Regions from separate parts of the Homo sapiens genome. Here all the other regions are linked to region 1. The links are contacts of gene promoters, found by promoter capture Hi-C in human tissues and cell types (Jung and others, 2019). All regions are on one chromosome and are shown on one strand. Each heading gives the region's core, a stretch centred on a gene start or on the middle of the fragment in contact. The rest is flanking DNA. Distances are from core to core; before and after follow the strand shown. Region 1 holds the start of NEGR1 (neuronal growth regulator 1). Region 2 overlaps NEGR1 (neuronal growth regulator 1). Region 3 overlaps NEGR1 (neuronal growth regulator 1).

Evidence for each region. The method cuts DNA at HindIII sites, captures the fragments that hold promoters and counts their contacts. A contact is called where the count stands out against the background at its distance.
Region 2: a contact is called between a fragment that was not itself captured here and the fragment with the promoter of NEGR1 in region 1, in 1 of the 25 tissues and cell types used here (hippocampus).
Region 3: a contact is called between a fragment that was not itself captured here and the fragment with the promoter of NEGR1 in region 1, in 2 of the 25 tissues and cell types used here (dorsolateral prefrontal cortex and hippocampus).

The regions. Positions count from the first base shown.
Region 1 is chr1:72,280,324-72,283,866 of GRCh38, forward strand. It overlaps NEGR1 (neuronal growth regulator 1), which reads right to left and starts at 2,216. Exons shown (of 7, transcript NM_173808.3): 1 at 1,996-2,216. The coding sequence starts at 2,171. LOC105378797 (a long non-coding RNA gene) reads left to right here and starts at 2,611. Exons shown (of 6, transcript XR_947506.3): 1 at 2,611-3,082. RefSeq lists silencers at 2,403-2,462, 2,563-2,652. The HindIII fragment of the contact is 4,654 bases long and covers 1-3,543 here.
Region 2 is chr1:71,611,126-71,615,046 of GRCh38, forward strand. It overlaps NEGR1 (neuronal growth regulator 1), which reads right to left. Exons shown (of 7, transcript NM_173808.3): 5 at 1-21. Among named protein-coding and RNA genes, the nearest start is that of NEGR1-IT1, 220 kb to the right of the region's middle. The HindIII fragment of the contact is 3,323 bases long and covers 731-3,921 here.
Region 3 is chr1:71,562,557-71,566,356 of GRCh38, forward strand. All of the region lies in intron 6 of NEGR1 (neuronal growth regulator 1), which reads right to left. Among named protein-coding and RNA genes, the nearest start is that of NEGR1-IT1, 270 kb to the right of the region's middle. The HindIII fragment of the contact is 6,633 bases long and covers 1-3,800 here.

The DNA.
Region 1 (3,543 bases), core at 966-3,465:
ATGCCAGGATACATTATTGAAAGAAAAGCAGTCTCCTAAACCCTTTAGGGTGGAAATGGTAATGCTCACTACAAATAAGCAATATGTTGCTTGCTACAAAAATACATATTGCAGCTCCCATGATATGTGTTTGCAATCTCTGAAGATAGTGTCTTGCCCTTACCACTGTTGTTCAAACTTCTAAAACAAACTTAACATAAAGAGAAAATACAGGCTTAATTTATATCCTCTCTGTGACAAAGAATTTATCACTGTTACCAACAATGAAAAGTTTTTTTTTACTGTGTAATATCAAAGATATTAGTTACTTTTGTATATAGTGGCATTTGTTATTCAAAACAGAAATTATTAAAAACATATGTATTAGTGTATATTAAAAAATACGATAGTATTCCAAATTTGAACTCATAGGCATGTTCCAAAAGGTGTAAGTCATATACCACACCCACATCATTAAATTTAAATATGTTGCATGTTTCAAACAGAAACATTTCCCACTCTCTTTCACCTTAGACATGTCATGTACACTGATGTTGTGCAAGCCAGACTTACAAGCCAACTACCACCCAGTGGAGAAAAAGAAGATCTTTCAGGGAAATGTGAGGTGGGGTGGCAGGGGGAGAAGGGAGGGTGATGGGAAAGAAATGAAGGAATAGGGCGTTTAGCTTTGTTTAGATCTAAGCTTTGCTGATCATCCATTTATATTTTCATAGGAAATAAAATATTCCCAGACTCCCACTCTGCAGTGTTGCTTAGGGGTAAAATCAGGGTATGGATGTTTATTAATGACAAACCACCTCAGAGCTCAAGCTCAGAGGAAAGAAGGGAAAATGAGAAAAATAAGTAAAAGTGAAGACTGATGGAGGGAGGAAGGTAGGAATAAAAAGGGGATAGAAAGACACAGAAAGAGAAAAAGAGAGAAGCAGAGACAGAGTGAGAGCAGCGAGTGAGACAGGCAGTGTGTACACATGTGTGAGTGACAATGTGGAACAGAGAAGGAGAGTATGCCTTTTAAAAACAGTGAGAGACAATCTGAATGTGGAAGTGGTTCTTACAGCATGGAAGTGCCAGTGCATGTGAGGATGTGAGAGTATGTGAGTTAGTATGTTTATGGAAATAAGATTTATGAGGGTGAGTAAATGGTACTGGAGGGGAACAGTGACCATGCCTGTGTGTGCCACAGGGGTGGGAAACGGTATGGGGAGAGGGATGAGAAATGGGAGTCAAAAGAGGGAAGACAGGGCACAGGATAGGGACATTAAGGAGGAATAAAAAAAATAGACAAAAAGAAAAAAGGGTAAAAGAGAGGAGGAAAGGGGATTAAATGTGAGGAACAGAAATTAGAGTCGTGGAGATAAAAATGAGAAAATATGAGAAGAAATTTTAAAAAGGAGGGAAAAAACAGAAAATAGAAAAGGTATGAAAAGAGATATTGGAGGGAAAAAGAGTTACAAGGAGGTGGGGAAAATGGTATAAGAGAATGAGGAAGGAGAAAAGAAAGAAAACAGAAAGCGGTAAAAGGAAAGAAAGATAAAGAGCAAGAAATCGAGCCTAAGTGTCCAAGTGAGAGGGAAAATAAATGGGAGCAGAGAACAGCAGTTTGAAAGAGTCGCTTATGCTGGAGTAAAATAGAAACAAACCTGATAAACTTGTCAGACTCTCCAGGAGTACCCCATGACAGTAAAACAGAGACCTTGTGCATTGAGTTTCAAAGTGGCACCTGCCCCTCCTTCTAAACCTGACAGTTCACTCATCCCCAGGCTACTTGGCGTTCCGGCAAAGTGCTTTAGCATCACGAGTCCAGCTTGCTACCTGCCCCAGCATAAACGGGCCGGGGCTCCGGGAAGAATCTGCACCTGGAATTCTTGGGATGTGGTCTTTCCATGATGAGCACCACCAGCATTATTGCTTGTGTTATAAAGAAGGCAAAGAGGGTTCAAAGAGAGACAGAAAGATAGACCGAAACAAGTACGAAAAGCACGCCGTTCTTCCTACCTAAGCACCGCCGTGTCCCCTTTTCTGACCATCATGTTGTCCACGGCCGCCCAGGGGAAGTCCACACTCTGTCCAGCCGGGAGGCAGGAGGGTAGCAGGCAGCACAGGCTGAGGAGCACCGCCGCCAGCCACTGGTTCGAGCAACAAGCACCCTGCACCAACAGCATCATGTCCATCCCTGCTAGGGCTGCTCACTCTCCAGCAGCTTTCAGCTCGCACTCCCCCACCCCCTGGTGCTGGCGAGTCTTCCCGGGAACCAGGCGGCGCGCCACAGGATTTTTTTTTTTTTTTTTTTTTTTTTTTTTTTTTGGTGGGTGGGTGGGTTTCTTTTCTTTCTTTCTTCCCCCCACCCCAGTTGTTGGGTGTTGTTTCTCTCTTTTTGTTTTTCGGTGTTTTTGCCTCCCCTCCTCCTCTTCGCTTTCCCTCCCTCCCTCCCCTCCCTCCCCCTGGCACCACACTACACCTCCTCTCGGTTGCTTTTGGCCGCGTCCGGAGTGTGTCTAATTCTCGGGCGGCTCGCACACCATCTAGCGAGGAGGCGAGCGCGCCGGCGAGTGAGGGAGGAGGCGCGGCGGCGGGGGAGGAGGCAGGGCGAGCGGCGGCGGCGGCGGCTGCAATCCCAGCAGCAGCAGCAGCAACAGCAACAGCAGCAGCAGAAGCAGCGCGGAGCGCTGCGCCGGCCGCCGGCTCCCGGGCTCGCGCGCGTTGCCAAGCGGCCGTTTCCTTAGCAACCCCGCCAGGGGACTGGGGATGGAGAAGGGAGGGGGATTAAAAAAATAATAAAAAAAGAAAGAAAAAAGATAGCAAGAAAAAAAAAAGAAAAGCAAGACAACGAAAAAAAAAATAGGAGGAACTGTATCACAATTATGCAAACTAAGGGGGAAAGAGAGGCACCTTAGAATGAAGGCTCTCCTTACTGTCGTAAGCGCTAGAGGGATTCTTTGCTAGAAAAGTCTCCGTGTCAGGGCTGGGGTGAAGAGAGCTGAGGGGCGCTTTGCCTTCCCTCACCGGTGCGTTTTACCTCTCGAGGCACCGTAAGTTTGAAGTCCTCCAAGTTGTGGTCGGCGCCATCATGACGCCGGCGACTGTGAGTTGTTTTTTTGTTTATTTTCTTCTAATCTTGCCTGGGTGGCTACGCTGCAGTTAGCGAGCAGCCAACTAGTTCTCTCTGCGTTTTCTCGGGAATAGGTAGGGACGGTGGCGGGGCGCTGCTTTTTTGCGGGGACACGAGGAGGTGCAAGGCCTTGCGGCAGAGCAGCTTGCGTGTTTGTGGCGGTCGGCCCGTATGGATTGCAGGACGCCCCTCTTTTATCTGTGGGTGTTGACACTAAGTTGTGTGTGTGAGTAGGGGATTGTTTATGGTCAACATGGAGTGTGTGTGTGATAGAGAGCGTGTCGTGCGCGCGGGGGCCTGTGCACGCGCGGCACGCAGGCGCGCTGGGAGGGACGGGGCGGGTCATGCTGGGATGTAGAGTCGGGAAAAGACTGCAATCAAGTGTTTTAATTGTGTAGAGCCCAGGCGGTCCAGTTATGTAAGAGGCAGTTTAA
Region 2 (3,921 bases), core at 1,142-3,641, 670 kb before region 1:
TTTCCTGAATAGTAGGAGCAACTGCAAAAGAAACAAACAAACAAATACTAGTAGATAAGTAAAAATAATCCTCAACAGAAATATGACACACATATATTTTTATTCCTTCTATATTCAAAGCAATCTTATGCCTGATAGACCAACGCATCACATTTTCAGTGTTTTATGCTTCAAATACAAGACTAGTCATTTTCAGCTTCATTTTTCAAGGTGAACAATAGATGAATGTTTTCAGGGAGTGCAGAGTAAATGCAATACATTTTGGCCTTGCTTCCTACTGGAAAAATGGCATTGGTGAGGGTAACACTCCATCTGTACTCCAGTCCAACTCTACTGCAGTAATAGTTCTCATCTATTGAGTGATCACAGGGAGCCAGTCACTGGGCTAGGTGCTTTACATTCTCGATTTCCTCACAAAAATACTCTAAGCTTGATGGTATTATCTCAATTTTACAAATGTGAAAAGTCAAGTTCAGAGATGTTAAATGAATTGTCAAGGTCACACAGCTACTTAGTTGCAGAATTTGCCTTTGAAGTCAGGCATGTTAACTCAAAGCCTGGGCTCTTGAAATATTCTGTGTTTTTTCCTGCCTCCTCCCTATGCTTTAGTAATTTAGTGATTTTTTCTTTAATGTAGTTTCTTCTGCCCGAATGCCGTTGTTCCCCATTTCCACAGATTCAAGATCCATATTAGGCATCAGTGTCCCCATGCTCTTCCCTATTGCTCTAGCTGGAAAAAGTTTCCCCGCCTCTGAGTATCTGGATCTCTCATACCATCAACTTTCTATCATGTATTGATAGAAATGTATTGCATTGGCCGAGTGCGGTGGCTCACGCCTGTAATCCCAGCAATCTGGGAGGCCGAGGCGGGTGGCCCACGAGGTCAGGAGATCAAGACCATCCTGGCTAACACAGTGAAACCCCATCTCTACTAAAAATACAAAAAATTAGCCGGGCATGGTGGTGGGCACCTGTAGTCCCAGCTACTCGGGAGGCTGAGGCAGGAGAATGGCGTGAACCCAGGGGGCAAAGCTTGCAGTGAGCCGAGATTGTGCCACTGCACTCCAGCCTGGGCGACACAGCAAGACTCCGTCTCAAAACAAAACAAAACAAAAAAGAAATGTATTGCACTGTATCATGTACTGTATTTATGGGTATGCCAGATTTCCTTTTCAGTTCCTTGAAGGCAGGGTTAAATATCTGATTCATTCTTTGTATATTCCAAGATCATTACACAGTGCCTAGCACAGTGTGATGCTTAAAAAGCTTTTTTTGTAGCATAACTTTTTTTTTTATCCTTCACATAGTTATTCAGCTGTCAACATGTGCCAGGCATTTCTCAAGGAACAAAGCAGTAAATTGCCCTGACGTGATGAAGCTTATATTCTAGATGGGGTAACAAATGGGGAGACAGACTATAAACAGCAAATATCACAAATAAGTAGTTTAAATAAAATGTTAGAAGGTGATAAACAATACAGTAAAACAAAAACAAAACCCTTATAGTTGCAAGGTAAGAGGAATCAGAGAATGGAATGGAATACTATTTTCGATAGGGTAATCTGAGTAGGCCTCATTGAGATGGCAAAACTTGCACAAAGACTAGATGTAAATGAGTGAGTTAGCTATGTGGATATTTAGAGACAGAACCTTGAAGGAAGAGGGAACAGCTTGCAGTAAGACACTGAGGCTGAAGCTAGCCAAGTTTGTTTAATAAATAGCAAGATTGGTGTGGCCGACACAAAGAGAAAGAAGGAGAGTAGGAGGAGATAGGACCAATTTTCAGTGGATTCCAAGTTTACACCAAAGAGAAACAAAGGATGGAAGACTGGGTAGGACCTCTCAGGTCATTTCAAGGAATTGACTTTTATTCTAAGACAAATGGTGAGTCCCTGCAGAGTACAGATAAAATCTGATTGTTTTTTTGAAAAGATGACTCTGGCTGCTGTGTTGAGAAAAGACCATAGTGAGGCTAGGATAAAAGTCTAGGGATAAAGTAGGGAATGCAGTAAGCAAGGCAAATGAAGGTGGGTGGCTCACTCCAGGGTGGTAGCAGTGCAAGTGGTGGAAAGTTATCGGGCTTGTGGTCTACTCTGAAATTGGAGCTGATAAGATTTCTAGACAGACTGAAGTGACATAGAGAAAAAAAGAGGAGTCAAGGGTGATTTAATTTGGCTTGAGTAGCTGGAAGGTTATTGACTGAGATGAAAAGGACAGTAAATAGAAGAATTTTGGAGGGGGCTGTGTGCAGTGGCTCACACCTATAATCCCAGCACTTTGGGAGGCCGAGGCGGGTGGATCACCTGAGGTCAGGAGTTCGAGACCAGCCTGGCCAACGTGGTGAAACCCCGTCTCTACTAAAATTACAAAAATTAGCCAGGCATAGTGGTGGGCACCTGTAATCCCAGCTGAAGCGGGAGGCTTGGGAGGCTGAAGCAGGAGAATCGCTTGAACCCGGGAGGCAGAGGTTGCAGTGAATTGAGACTGCCATTGCACTTCAGCCTGGGCAACCAAAGCGAAACTCCATCTCGAAAAAAAAAAAAAAGAATTTTGGAGGGAAACATTAGGAGTTGTATGCATGCGTCTTTTCATAAATATTTCCTATTCTGCCAAGTTTTTAACATACTATAATTCATATTTCAAATAACACTATAGAAAATTATTAATCAACAACTAGAATCTTGAAGATACAAAAACTAGTTCATTCAGAAATATGGCCTAAGTGTGCACTATGGATGTATTTTGATTTCTTTGGAAAGCAATTAAAAAGTACAGCACTTAATGGTTTATCAATATTCAGTGAATACTGAATATATAGTTTTCAACATATGAAAACTATAAAAACTCTTACAATGGAACATTGCCTTTCAACTAAAAAAATACCCTAGGAAATACATCATTTTCTGTTAAGGGAAATACTTCTTTTTGAAATTATTGCACTTCTATTTCTCTGTGGTGTTTTTATTCTTATTATTTATAGTTCTAGAAAACATTGCAAGGAAAATATTTTTGCTAAAGTACTTGCTAATAAATTGGTGAAAAAAATGAAATAATATTTCCAAAAAATGTTTGCATGAGAACTGTTACAAGATAATATAGATACACACATATACACAAACACACACCCAGTTTTATATATATATAAATCATATATGTATAACTTTTATAATGTACATATACATATATACCCTTATATATACACATTTATCTATATATGGGTGTATACATATACGTATATTCACAAACACAAGAAATCATTTCATAATTTTAAAATTGTTTTGTTAAGCAAAATTTCATGTCACCTGCAAAAGCCAATTAAATATATTAAAAAATCTATAAATAAAACTTCATGTACTTGTCAATTATTATGACACTGCTCATGACAGGTACAGGTAAGATTGTATTTTCACTATTGTTCTCATAGGCTTTAATCTCTCTTTCCTGTCACACAAACAGACTGTAATCTTTTATGATATCTAACTATTATTGAAGATGAAATAACCATATGCAACAGGAGATCCATCACAAGCTTCTACTGATAACCTGGTTAGTTTAATTACTCTCTTGTTTGTCAAGGGGGCCATGACTCATTATAAACAAAAGCATGAAATCCGGAACATTGCCTGAAAACCGGAACATTGCCTGAAAACCCAGGCGTAATGAACCGAAATCAAAATCTAGTTCATCATTAAAAGGCTTTTGTGCAGTACAGTGTACATACGGCTCAGTACTGGGTGCTTTACCACACAAGTTAAAGGGACATGATCCTGTTATCTAGGGCTTCGTGGGCTGCTATGATGGACACCGAAAATGGAAAGATATCTAAAATGTCACATGGAAATATGGATAAAGAATGAATAAATATGCATAAGAAAAAGTCCTAAGAGCATTTTGCAAGGTATAGAGTTAAAGGTCCAAGTG
Region 3 (3,800 bases), core at 350-2,849, 720 kb before region 1:
CCTTTCCTAGTACAGATTTCCTAAGGCACAAGGAAGAATGTAATTGTTTAGTTCTCACCTTTTAAAAATGTATGAAATTACTTGGATATTTAGCTTGTTTTCTTTTCTTTTATTTAGGGGCTGTGTTCTTTCCTTTAAATCATTTGTGTAGGTAAAAGCAGTGATTTGTTCAGCTTTTGCTAGGTTATTCTGTTATAACAGTCAAGGTCTAAGTGACTCCAACAATAAAATTTATTTCTTGCTCACGTAAACAGTTCAACTGCAGTTTTGCTTCTGTTCCATGTGTCTTCCTCATTCTAGGACCAGATTCATATCACTTACCTGGCTCATATTCTTCTCATGGCAGAGGGAAAGTCTGAGACATAACCATTAGTAGTTCTTGGAGCCTGTGCTAAGATGTGGTGCACATCACTTCTGCTATTTCATTGGCCAAAGCAAGTCACATGATCACCAATGTCAATAGGAAGAAGGCCTTGCACATTATCTAAAAATGGGTATAAATGTGTAATCCTCTCATGGGGAAGTAAGTGAATATTTGTGAATAATAATAGAATCTCACGTGGCATATATTTGTTTGCTTATAAAAGAGTGCTTGTTCTCCATGAAACATATTGGAATAGAGAGAGAGAGGACTGACTACCTTTTACTTAAGTGCAACAAGATAACAGTTCAGATTTCCTGCTGACTCTGGGAGATACTTAATCTCCTGGAAAGACACATCTATGAATTTTGCTTGTAAGCTGGCAGATAAATGGCCGGTGCATGAACCCAAGATAGGGTTGATTTTTCCCTCAATGTTTTTATGCTGCTTTGCACCTGGACTCCATGAGCTAGATCAGAGAAAGCCCACAGAGCATTTTTGCAGAATAATGTCATAAATGCCCACATAATTTTAATTACAGATGAAGCTTAAATGGATAATTCAAAATATGCTCCAATCATACAGAGGGAGAGTAAATTATCATCTATTATTGACTGAAAGAACTAGAAAGACAAGTAAATGGTTGCTAGGCCCTTTGCTATCATTTAGAGAAATAGAAGAGCACAAAAATGGTAAAGACATGAGCCTGCAGATATGTAAGAGAAAGATTTTTTTGTCGTTGTTATATTTGTTTTTAACAGAAAGAAGTTTGGAACAAGCAAAAGAAAAGAGTTTCACTGGGAATCTTGCCTTTCTAGTGTAAAAGAGGGTGAAGACTTTAATAAATAAATCTAGCATTTGTGAACTGGAAGTGATGGCTGAAAAAAAATAAAGGAAGGATCACAGAGCCCTGTGAAAGTTTGGGGAACTTGTCCTAGCAGGTTGACACAATTTGACTTGAAAATGATACACTGTTGGTGTCCTTTGCCCTGACTATAGGTGACAGACGACTGGAACAGAAGAGGCACACTGATCGGGGAGGAAAAAAAAAAAGACCAACCTTCCACTCTATCATTTCAAAACAAATATGTATTTATGCTTGGAAATGGAAGGAAAAAGGCCAAAGGTATTCTACATTTTTATCAAATGCCTTTATCCATGCAACGCAAAGCTTTGGCATTACCTGCGAGACTGTTAGAAATGCAGACTCTCAGGCCCCAGCGCAGATGTAGTGAATTAGAATCTGACTTTCGCAAGATCTCAGGTGATCTGTTTGCACTTTAAATAAGTTTGGGAAGTACTGATCTAGGATGAGTAGCCCCTTGCTAGGGGAATGCACGTATGTTATTTTACATTATCATCACCACATACACTCATAGTATTTGTTTCCAAAATTTAAGAATTAGAGAACTTAATTTCATAAACTGGGAAAAATCATACATATGTTAAGTAGTGGATTAAGGATTTGGACCCAGTTCTGTGACTCCACAATCTTTATCTTCCCCATTCTGCTATCTTTTCTTACATTTATTTTTGTACCCACAAAAGAACAAAAAATAAAAGCTCTGCTTCCTTTGGATCTCAATTTTTTAAAAGTCAAAACCCAGTACTTCCTTTACTCATATTTCCTCCCTGTCTCAATCTTCTCTCTTAGTGTTGATATGTACAAAGATGTGCTCTATACAGTAAGAAAACATCAAAAATTTAATCGCAATTTTTGTTGATAGTTCAAAGAAATAAGAAAATTTTTTATAAATGACTATGTTTTATCAATTCTGGATGCCAGTCGTTTTTATAAAATTGTCAAAGCAACTAGTATATGGATATGATAGACTATTTATAATTATGTTTCACAAGGATAAAACTGGAACTCACAGATCATATAATCATTGACTCAGCTATAAAAAGATTTAGAGATAATCTCTTCCTGTGCCCTATGACATTAGGTTACTTTCCAAGGTCACCTATTGCAGAGACATGGTTAAAACTCAAGTATTCAGATTTGCAGTGTAGGGTTCATCCTTTTCTACTATGTATCATACTGCTTCAAAGAGGAAGTTAAGAGTAACTATCAATTAGATATCATTAGGTAAGTACACAAATTTTGCATGATATTTTAAGGCGAAGAATCAGTACTGAGATCCTCTTCCCAAACCAATCAAAGGCCCATTTATTGAGAGGTAACCAGATAAAATAAAATGGTTGTAAACCAAACACTCCCTGGTGGTTCCTCGTAGGAAGCCATGCTTCCCCAGCTTCAAGCCTTTCTATGAATTCTATCCAAAACAGGGTTGGATCAGATTCTTACTGAGATCCTACTTGACTTAATCCTTGGCTTGGGGTTACTAGGGAATTAAGACATATTCAAAGGAAAAGAAAAGGAAAAAATAAGCAGCTGGAGTTTGTGTGCTTGGGTATGCTTCTATGTATGTATACACAATAGTTTAAGCCTGGCTAAGACTTTTATGATTCATGTCATTTCTTGTATACAGACTTCATCTCAGTTCTTAGTGGTTTTTCAGTAACAAGGTATTTGCTTAGCAGGGAAAATAAGTGTTTCTCCCTGTGATTGCCAAACTGGTGTTGGTCTCTCTGCAGAGCACATTTCCTCATCAAGAACTCAGGCCCTCTAAATAGGACAGAGCAACAAGTATTGGCATGCAGACAAAAACCTGCAGAGAGTGCCAGCTGACTCTTCAGTTTCTTCACCAGGTACAGTGCAGAGACAGAAAAATGAAACAGCACACAGCTGAAGGAAGAAAAGGCACATGAAATAAATATGATAGATGCAATGGAGATAAGATATTGAAAAGCAGAGAATAATATTGAGGGCATCAGTGGAACCAGACTAGGTTGGAGAGGATAATGTTCTTAGGAACAATTTCAATAGGAGCCTTTAATAGATTTATACAATTCTATAAGTTTTTCTAAATTTCTTTTTTTATTTTGAATAATTTGCTAGTCTCTTCTTGCTGATCTATGTCCACATGTAAGTCAAATATTGAAAATATATGCCCTAATTTAAAACAATGTCTGACACACAGAGAAGGCCATGTGAAGACAGAGACGGAGATTGGAGTTATGTTGCCACGAGCCAAGGGACACCAACAATTGCTGACATCTACCACAGGCTGGGAAATGGGCACAGAATGGATTCCCCCTGAGAGCCTCCCGAAGGAAACAACCCTGCCAAAACCTTGGTTTTGGATTTCTTCTGGCTCCAGAACTATAAGACAATGTATTTCTGTTGTTTTGAACCACCCAGTTTGTAGTAATTTTTTATGACAGCCCTAGCAAACTAATATAGATATTTAGGTGAATGGATTTCTAATAATAGATATACTTTTAAAAGTATCCTAATTTTTAATGTATTTAGTCATGAGAAAAATATATCAACAAACTAGGGTAAAACATTTTATAGTATTTTCCGTATTTCGTA